Linked DNA regions of Homo sapiens: region 2 is linked to region 1. Evidence: promoter capture Hi-C in human tissues and cell types (Jung and others, 2019). All regions are on one chromosome and are shown on one strand. Each heading gives the region's core, a stretch centred on a gene start or on the middle of the fragment in contact. The rest is flanking DNA. Distances are from core to core; before and after follow the strand shown.

The links. The method cuts DNA at HindIII sites, captures the fragments that hold promoters and counts their contacts. A contact is called where the count stands out against the background at its distance.
Region 2: a contact is called between a fragment that was not itself captured here and the fragment with the promoter of ZNF502 in region 1, in 1 of the 25 tissues and cell types used here (heart left ventricle).

What each region holds. Positions count from the first base shown.
Region 1 is chr3:44,711,327-44,716,651 of GRCh38, forward strand. ZNF502 (zinc finger protein 502) reads left to right here and starts at 1,334. Exons shown (of 3, transcript NM_001134442.3): 1 at 1,334-1,414. It overlaps LOC105377056 (a long non-coding RNA gene), which reads right to left. Exons shown (of 3, transcript XR_940788.4): 3 at 4,191-4,511. The HindIII fragment of the contact is 6,909 bases long and covers 1-4,250 here.
Region 2 is chr3:44,978,358-44,983,532 of GRCh38, forward strand. All of the region lies in intron 1 of EXOSC7 (exosome component 7), which reads left to right. Among named protein-coding and RNA genes, the nearest start is that of EXOSC7, 4.7 kb to the left of the region's middle. The HindIII fragment of the contact is 3,779 bases long and covers 1-3,180 here.

The sequences.
Region 1 (5,325 bases), core at 84-2,583:
AGTTTTAGCTCTCAAACAAGCAGTATACATCTATGTGGAGTAACTATTTCCTGTAACTTGTTGGAAGTTGATGGTGACCTAGTCATTCATCAAATACTGATTGAATGCCTAGTATGTCAGCCATGCTCTAGGTGCTAGGGATATAGTATGAATGAAACAGAGAAGGCCCCTGCCTTCATACAGCTTACATTCTACCAAGGGAGATAACAATTGGATAGAGTGAGCCAAAGAAACGGGAATATGCCAGCTACGTGGTACATCCTTTCAGATGTGCAGAGAGCTTGCTTTCTGGATTTAATCTATGGTATCCTCATTTTTCAGTTTATCAAAAATGCCAATAATCTAAATTTCACCTGTTTCTGATTAACGAATTCAACAAGTATTTATTGAATGCCTTCTCTACCAATCATTGTGCTAAACATTGAGATATAATGATAAATAATAGCTCCATATAGCTGATTAGAGTTGTATAAAAATGAACTGATTGGGTCTTTCACAGTTGTCCTTGGGTGGGATGCTACTTGTGTGTATCTTCCTAACAATACCTACGAAAGAAATACAAGTGTATGCATTTAGGGGGGCACTGAATAGAAGGCTAGCTAGAGCTAGAATAACTAATAGTGATATGTGAGTGTAAAGACCCATAAGGGCAACAGTCTAGGTGGTCAAGTGAGAATTGGCATTGGGATTTGAAGAACCAGGATAAATTGGATAGCTGAGGTTAGGGAGAGCAGGTAGAAGGAAGGGAGAGTATTCCAAAGGGAAAATCCTGGGAAAAAGATCTAGAGTCAGGAAGAGGCAAGGGATTTCAGGGGGCCAATGGGAATTCAGTAACTTTAGAGCAGAATGTATATGATAGCCAAATAAGAGATGTTGATATTGAGGTCAGTTTGTGTGGGCCTAGATTGGGAGTTTGTCCTTTATTCTAACATAACAGGGGATCACTCAAGGTTCTTAATAGAGACTATTTTAAGCAGGTAGAATATACTAGTTTCTTGTTGAGATGGCCCATTCCGGCTCCTACCCAGCATCCTTTCCATCCCTAACGTCTCCCTCTACAGTTTTCCTGAGGGTTGAGGTAGCCACTGTGTTTCAGGCCAAGATAGTTGTTAATGGGATATCAGGAACGCGACTGGGCTTGACGGGAAGCAAGGCTGGAGTTACAGGCTGGGCTTGGCGGGAAACAAAGCTGGAGTTACAGGCTGGGTTTGGAGGGAATGCCTTCTTCTAGGGTCCCATAGAGATGTTCCTCCCGCTTCCTAGAGAATCAGAGAATGGATGCGCGAGCTCGCTGCTGACGCACTACCGGCCGCGCCACCATTCTTCCGGTTTCAGAAGTTAAGGCTGGTGTCCTGGCCCCAGTCCACCTCTGGGAGCGCCTGCGCCGCTCCGCGGAGAGTCCGTGGATCTCACAGTGAGCGAGTTGGGACCCAGGGAGGGGAAAAGAGAGGACCCCGGCGAGCCATTGCTGGGGCGGCGGGCTGGAGGGTTATCTGGGAAGTCAGCCCCGGCCTCGGTCCTCTCCACGTTGCTGCCTACGCGTGCTGCCCGGACGTAGGGCACTCCTAGCGGCTCGGCCCGCCCAGCCTGCAGCCTCAGCACTGCAGACTCCAAGGCCCAGCACAGTGCCCGGCACAGAGGAGATGCCTAGGAAAATGGCGGAGTGAATGAATGAATGAGTGAATGAGTGATGGATAGATGATCAAGACAGACCTAGGACCCATGTCAGGAAACGAGGTCCTGGGGATCAGATACCAGTTTCTTCCCCCGGCTGATCCTGTAGCTCCGAAACTTGTTTAGAGCCTGTTTTTATAGGAGACGGCAAATAGCGTAAAGTGCACTCGTTGGGAGTCTTGAGACCTGAGTTACAATTCTGGAGGGTACAGAAATCTCTAAAGTACTGTCTAGAAGTCTGTTCCTTGCTTCTTCACAAAGCTCAGTTGACAGCTTGTATGTGATAGCATGTATGCAAACCTTAATGCCTCCCAATGAAGGATTACTATCCATTATATGCCAAACATTACCCCGAATTTAGTGGCTAGGCTACAAAAGAGTGACATCGGAGACTGCCACATGTAAAGATGCTTCCAGTCTTGTTTAGGACGATAAGGGCATAAGCAGATTTTGGTGGTAATATTTTAAACTACATTTATTTAGCACTTACTGTATACCAGGCACTATTTGAAGCATTTGTGCTAATTGATTTAATCTTCACAACAGCGTATTGCGTGTACAGTTTTGTTTTTTGGTTTTTGGTTTGTTTTTTTTTTTGAGACGGGATTTCACTCTTGTTGCCCAGGCTGGAGTGCAACGGGGTGATCTGGGCTCACCACAACCTCTGCCTCCCGGGTTCAAGCGATTCTCCTGCCTCAGCCTCCCGAGTAGCTGGGATTACAGGCATGCGCCACCACACCTGGCTAATTTTGTATTTTTAGTAGAAACGGGGTTTCACAGTGTTGGTCAGGCTGGTCGCGAACTCCCAACCTCAAGTGATCCACCCGCCTTGGCCTCCCAAAGTTCTGGGATTATAGGCGTGAAACACCGCGCCAGGCCTATGTGTAGTTTTTAAGTGAGGGAACTGAGGTACAGAGAGAACAGAAAACTTGTCCCAGATCACATTGCTAAGTGACCCAAGGCTGCATAAGAGATAAAGTGTACTGCCACAGCTTGGGTGAGTGCACTGTTTGGTGCCAAAATGCAGACCAAGAAGGGCTTCAGAGAGGAGTACATTTCAATGTGGTCTCGTTGGAGGGATTGTTAAAAATTCTTGAAAAACTTCATCTAGCTTGCTTAGATTCTTTTAGCTAATTATTGAGGGGTAAGGAGGTGGCATCTGGGGAAAAGCTTACAAGGTAGAGGGAGGAAGCCAGCTCTCTAATAGGTTAGCAGGATAGGGCTATTAAGAGCCTGTTTCCTTTTTACCTTTCACCATAATACTCAGCTTTCCCCAGATCTGCAGAGGGATCTTTTTAGCATCTTAAAATCACTAACAGCCAGATTATTCCACAATAGGCATTTGTAGAAGCACCTGTACATTACTTTCTGGGCAACTTATAGACCTAGGAGTCAGCAAATATGGACCAAATTTGGTCTGCCACTTTTTTTGGTAAAACTGTTTTATTAAAACACAGGCAAGCTCATTCAGTACATATTGTCTGTTTCTGTTTTCAGACTACAAAGGCAAAGTTGAATAGTTGAGACAGAGACTATATTTTCCATTTAACCCATTAAACCTAAAAAAAATTGCTTTCTGGCCTGTTACAGAAAATGTTTGCTGACCCTTGACATTGACAAACTGCTGACAGCTCAGATGATCCATGATTGGAAGGATGTGGTCATCACCAAGATGTCTTTCTTTCTCCGTAGGTTTTAGTATCAACCATAATAGCATCTAACCCCTGTTGAGTGCCTGCCATCGAGTAGATATCTTTTTGAATGCTTTATGTGAATTAACTCATCAAGGATTCACAGATTATCAGAGCTGGAATGACCCGTAAATATTGTCTAATTTGTCACCCTTTTCAGATAAATAGCCTGTCATGTAGGCCCACTCACATGGGCTATTGGCAGAGCAAACTTTCCTGAGTCCCAATCCAGTCTACTATCATCTTGTGAATGGGAGGCCAATACCATAGCCATTGGATCTGGCATTTTGTTTTTGTTTTTGTTTCTGGGTTTTTAAAAAGTAACTTTTTCTACCTATAAAAGTAATATATGTTTATTGAAGGAGAAGTAAAAATATAGAAGAGTATAAAGGACAAACTAAAGTGACCCATTAACTGACCTAGAGATAAATGTGTTAATATTTTGGTGGGTTTTCTTTATGTCTTTTTTAAATGTGTGTGTTTTATCTGTTTATTAACAATAGTTTCTGTTTATTGAGTGCTTAATGCCAGTATATGTGTGCATATTTCTTGTTTTTTAGTGTTTTGTATCTTCCTGTTTTAACATATTATATTTTCTCATGAATATTCTTTGAAATTATGATTTTTGATACCTTCATAAGCTATCTTTGCTAGTCTATCAATGTTTATTTGCCTGTTTATTTAACAATTGTAGTAATAGTGTGATCTTTGTACATAAATCTCTGGCCATCTCTGATTATGCTTTTTCACTTTTTCTTTGATTACAGAAGTTAGTTATTCCTATGGGAAAATTTTCAAACATTACAAAAAGATAGGCCTTAAGGCAAAAGTTTACCATAATTTTATTCTTCAGATATGATCACAATAAATAATTTGTTATATATTCTTATAGATTTGTTTTTTTTTTAAAGTGGAGCAAAATATAGATAATAGAGGACATTTGAGGAAATTATTCACAATTCATTATTTTACCACAGTGATGATTATTTTTCCTTCTTGATCTTATTCAGATGTATTTTTAATTTTTAATTTTTGAGAGGGATCTCACTCTGTCACCCAGGTTGGAATGCAATGGTGCTATCACAGCTCACTGCGACCTCTACCTCCCATGTTCAAGTGATCCTTCCACCTCAGCCTCCTGAGTAGCTGAAACCACAAGCACGACACATGTATATTTTAACAAACATATATTTTACATTATATTACTACTTGAAATTTTACTATACTGGATTTTTTCAACATATGGCATAAATATTTTTCCCAATAAACACATATTTTCATTTTTAATGATCTTAATGCCTAAATAATTTTCACCAACTAGAAGTACCATAATTTGCTAATCCTCAGTGTCCACCAGTAGAAAAACTTTTATTTCCATGTACATTTCAGGGGATATTTTTACAAGTAACAGAAGAATTCTGTTTCTCTTCTCTCTGGAAATTTACTTCTTTCTGAGAAAATTCTATTTGTAGAATTACTAGGTCAAAGAATATAGTCTTTTTTTTTTTTTTTTGAGACGGAGTTTCGCTCTTGTCGCCCAAGCTGGAGTGCAGTGGCGTGATCTCGGCTCACTGTAGCCTCTGCCCCCTGGGTTCAAGCAATTCTCCTGCCTCAGCCTCCTGAGTAGCTGAGATTACAGGTGCCTGCCACTGCGCCCGGCTAATTTTTTGTATTTTTTAGTAGAGACGTGGTTTCACCATGTTGGGCAGGCTGGTCTCGAACTCCTGACCTCAGGTGATCCACCTGCCTTGGCCTCCCAGACTGCTGGGATTACAGGTGTGAGCCACTGCGCCCAGCCGAATATAGTCATTTTTTATGGCATACTGATGACTCTGAGGTACACTACAGGTGGTGTATATACAAAATGAGCATTCTGTTCTGAATTCCTGTATCCACAAAATGTTGATCACAGCATCCTAACTATAACTGAAGCTACAACTTTCACACCTGATGTATATTG
Region 2 (5,175 bases), core at 41-2,540, 270 kb after region 1:
CCCTAAGGAGGTGGAATTGCTCCCCTAAATCCATGTCAAGGATTCCTCCTCTGTATCTTCAGGACTCAGTATTCATTCATTCAACACAGAACTGAGCTAGACTCAGGGGCTAGGAAGGAACCTGTCCTTATATAGCTCTCATGCTAGAAGGAAGATGCAGAAACTATAAATGTACTTGAGTGTTTATATATAAAATTGTACTGAATGCTATGAAGGAAAAAACGGACACGATCTAGACTGGGAGGTCAGAGGAGGCTTCCCTAAGGAAATAGCATTTGAACTGAGTTCTCAGCATGACTGAGAATTAAGTAGGCACCAGTGTTCCAGAAGGAAGGGGTGGTGAGTCTGTAAATCCTCAGGTGGAGGACATGTGGAGCCCAAGGGGTGGGCTGGGGGAAATGGTGGAAGATCAGCTTGCAGAGGTGGCCAGAAGCACGATCCTAGAGGTCTTAGAGGTTCAGTCATTCGCTCATCATGGATCTTGGAAGGCAATAGCCTGTTGACTTGTCTGTATGGGGGACCCTTAAGGCATAGCCAGTGTCTAGCACTTGGTAGGTTCTTAGTAGCATTGAATGGGTGATGTAAGCTTTAAAGGGGGAATGAGTTGGATGGTGTTTTTATTTTTTAAATTAAACCTCCCTCTCACCAGTACCATGGACATATTTGGGCACAGTTGTTGGTAAATGCTCAGCTCTGTGTATCACAGAGCCATGCAGAGTAATGGGCTTCAAATCAACGTCTTCATAAGGGCTTATTAATGTTGGCCCAAAATATGCCATATGTATAGAGGAGCAAAACACAATTTACACCATCCAAATAAAGGTCAGGATGCAGGTGAATGAGCCTACCATGGAATCTCAACTGATTCAGTTCTGAAATCTCCTAAACTTTTGTTGCGTTGGTTATAGAGTGCCGGCAGTGCACCTTAAGCAGTGCCTGCCTGAACTCCTGTTGCTTGTATAGTCCTAGTCATTTTGTGTTTTACTTTTCACCTTTGGTCCAGTAACGTCCATTTCAGCTTCTGATGTCACTTTCCCTTCAGCCTTTGGTTCTTTTACTATTTCAGGGAATATTTCATCTTGTTTTGGTGATAGTTAGAAGCAGTTGAAATTAACCTCACGATGTGTTGAGGATTCAGTTGCTAGTAATGGTAACCAACACATCGGCTCAAGCAAAACAGTATGGATTACAAGGCTGCAAGTGTTTCTCCAGGAATCCTAATCTCTGCTGGTTTTTTTTTTCCCCCTCTTTGCTTTGTTTTTGTCTCCCTACAGATTGGTTTTCTATTTCTTGGGCCAGTGGTAGAAAAAATGTGGTTCCTTCCCAGTTCCTCTGTAAAAGAGACCATTCCTTCTCGTTCAGTTCTGAACTCATGTTTCCAAGAGAAAGAAACTCTAGTTCTTTTAGGGGGTTGAGGGAAAGGATGGACAGAATAATTAGGCTCAAACATGGCCACTAGAGGATGTGTCACACTTGGGAGAAGTCAGTTTGTGAGAAGGGAGGGTGGATCATTTTAGTTATTGGCAGAAAATGGAACCCTCTTCAGGTAGTTCAGGAGACTTTTATGATGGGACTCTAGAGCAGTATGGGGGGGGTTTCAGGGAACCAATAAGAGATGTTGAGGAGCCCCAAGACAACTACTGGGAGTGGCTACTGCCCCTATTCCAAAGGGGCCAGGGGAGGAAACAGTATTACCACATTTCAGTGATAGCTGGAACTGTGGAGGAAGGGCTGCCCAACATAAGTCATAGTCTTCGATAGATGCAGGCACTATCAGAAATGTGGCCACTAGATTGGGGGTGAGGGGCACCCTCTGATCTGGTATCTTCCACTGGACAAACCCAACCAGAAGCCAGCAAAGGGAGTCTAGGTGATACAATTTGAGTCAACCTGGTGAACAGATCCCCTCTCCCAGGGGAGAACAGAGAATCAAAAAGGTGGATTAAATCGGTATTTTGATAAATAATTTGATTGGTTTCTGTTAGGTTCTCTTTCAGTCTTTGAAGGCTATATCCCATTCTTATTAGGTACATATTATAATTTTTATTTCATTGAATATTTACAACAGTTCTGAAGGTAAATGTTATCTCTATAGATGAGGAACTGAGCTCGGGCAGGTTGAGTCGCTTGTCAAGGTGACACAGTAATTGAGTGGTGGCACTGGGATTTAAATCCAGACCTGTCTGATTGCAAAGCCCATACTTGACTCTGAGGCCACCTTCCTGCTGCAGTGAAAGTCATTTCTTCCATTTCCTCAGTAGGGATCCAGAGATCAAGGCAGGAGAGAATCTTTGCTTCCTCTACCTCCTTTTCTTTCCCCCTTTCTCTAAAAGCTTGTGGGGAAACTGGAAGGGAAAGAGAAAGTTCTAATTGACACCTCCCACTCCCCAGTTTTTCTAGAGCTTAAATAGTATATGGCATATACTGCTGTATTGTTTTGGTTGCATTTTTCCCACATTGAGTATAAGTTCCTTTAGAACCCTATATTGCATTTCTTTGTATAGCTTTTGTCTTACTAGTATCATAAACGATTTACTCTGCCCATACCATGCAGAACTTGGAGCAGACTTCAGAATTTTTAGAATCTAGGATTTATCCTCTTTTCTGGCTTACTGGGCTAGATGTGTGTTTTCCTCATCCATGAGAAGCCATTGCTAACCTCCCTCTTAGCCCAGGGATTCTGAAGCCTTGAAGTGCATTTTACTCACCTACAAAATACAGATTCTGAGGCTTTACCCCAACATTCTGAATCAGACTCTCTGGGGCTGGGGCCTGAGAATGGACATTATCATAAAGTGTTGGGAAATTTGGGGGCAGCCACCAGACATTGGCCCATGGGTAAGCCACTGACCAGAGATAAAGAAATCTCTGCTCTCTCCTGCTGAAGTCATATGGTTTCCTGCCTCTTTTTGAATGAGGCTTTGGAGTCAGACTGAGCAGGCACCTTCACCATTTACAATAAGTGGTTTTACTTGCATAACTGAACCTGCTTCCCTTGTGTAAAATGGGGACTTATGCACCTGGAAGTAGAATGGGGTTATGAGGAATGATGAGATAAGAGATGTCAAGCACTTGGGCTGTGGTTAACACAGAAAAAATGCTGGCTCCCTTTCAAGTTTGTTTTTCCATCAGAAGTGTGACTTTGTCTTAAACCATCCACACTAGATCCCCAGCCTTCATAGTGACCTCATTAAAGATTCAGCCTGTGGCTCCTGAGAATTAAACCTCTTTTGATTTGAAGGAATCGGGATTTTTCAATTATCTCAAGAAAAGGGATAGGCCAGGTGCAGTGGCTCACACCTGTAATCCCAGCCCTTTGGGAGGCTGAGGTGGGAGGATCACCAGAGGCCAGGAGTTGGCATCCAGTCTGGGCAACATAGCAACACCCTATCTCTAAAAAAAATTAGGTGTGTGGTGGTGTGTGCCTGTAGGCCTAGCTGCTTGGGAGGCTGAGGCCAGAGGATCGCTTGAGCCCAGGAGTTGGAGATTTCACTCCAGCCTGGGTGACAGAGAGATACTCTGTCTCTTAAAAGAAAGAAAAAGAAAAAAGAGAAGGGGGATCTGTGGCAAGAGCTGGAAAGTCCCCAGACAGCTCTGAGGTACCGCCTCTCATGGGCTCCGTGGATTATCTCATGGCCTGTGTGGCTGTCTGTCTTTATCTCTAGTGACATCTCTGCTTTTCTCTGCCAAGATTTATCCCTTCTCTGCAGCCACTTGCTGTCCAGCTTCCCTTCTTTGTAGAATCTGCCTCTGCCCAATACCTTTACTTTCGTGTGGCCTCTCTGGGCTCCTCCATATCATGACCTGTCAGCTCCTCTTTAACTCCTTTCTTCTCTCAAGTGTTTCTCAGATCAGAGACCAGATTGCAATGAGAGAATCAGTTTGGTCTGGTAGTATTTCACGCCAAAAAGAGTTGGTCACCCTTTGGATTATATGCCTTTGGTTCAGGCACCTACCCCTGGTCCTGGCTGTTGGGGATGGATGGTGACTGTTATGTGGCCTTTACAGGGCTTTAGGCACAATAAAGCTTTCCCAGGTTCAGCCTACTGAGTGCTATGGCTATGACCTGGACATTAAACTGGCCCTCATAGGTTCAGACCTGGCCATGGCAATTGACGAACCCTACCACAGGGCTCTTGGAACCCTGTGAAAGCCATTTTATTGTATGTTCTTGGCTGTTGAAGGGAGTTGTAGCCCAGCTGATGGCTTCCATTTCTTTTCTGTGGATCTTGCTTTCATCATAAGCATTGTTTAGGGGTATAGCATGGAAGAGGGAGATCAGGGCCTCAGCCTGGTTTTCAACTATGAGATTGAGCAGTCAGTATTCGGTTGCTCAGTCTGGCCATGACAGAATTGGAGCCAGCCCTCAGGACTCTTGATTTTTAGCTCTCTGCCCTTTCTGTTTACAGACCCATGGCACAGAAAGCCTTATGCCCAGACACTGCAGGATGCAGAGTTATGGAGCCATATCCTTTCAGAGGAATGCCTGGCTACTCAACAGGGTTGGAAAGTCAAACAAGGATCAACACCTACTTTTGCCTGCTGTGTGATGGGCCCGAGCCTGCAAAGCTGGACCAAATGTGGCCCCTTTCCTAAGGGCGGGGGGCAGTCACCTTCTAGTAGGGGAAGGAATTTAGTCTCACTTCTCCTTTAGGAATCTGGAGTATTAGACAAGTCAAAGCAAGTTAATGAGGGGTTAACATAACCTCAGAGGACCACTTTGAGTCTAAAGTCCTTCCAGATGTGTCAGATTGGTAGCGCCAACTTGTCAGTTTCTATTAAGAAGTAATAGGACTGGGCTTCCTGGGTGTGAGGGAAAGTAGGTCTGTGCTTAAATGTCCTTCCACTCTGTCACAAACAGGAGATTGAAACTTAGGTGCCTCCATTCTTATCTGTAACCTCTCTCAGGGTTGTTTTTGAGGATGCAGTGAGTTAATGCATGCCCCCAGAAGCAGGGGAAGGGAACTGCTTTGGGGGGACTCCTATGTGTTACACTGAAGGACTCCTTTAAATGCTTTATGACGTTTCTGTTCTCTTGTAACTCTGTAAGGTCGGGGTTATCCCTGCTTTCTAGATGAAGAAACAGGCTTAGAGCTATTTAGGTCAAGGTCACAAAACTGGCATGTGACAACAGAGATTTAAGTATAATTTGGAAGGTGGCTGTTTCCACCACAC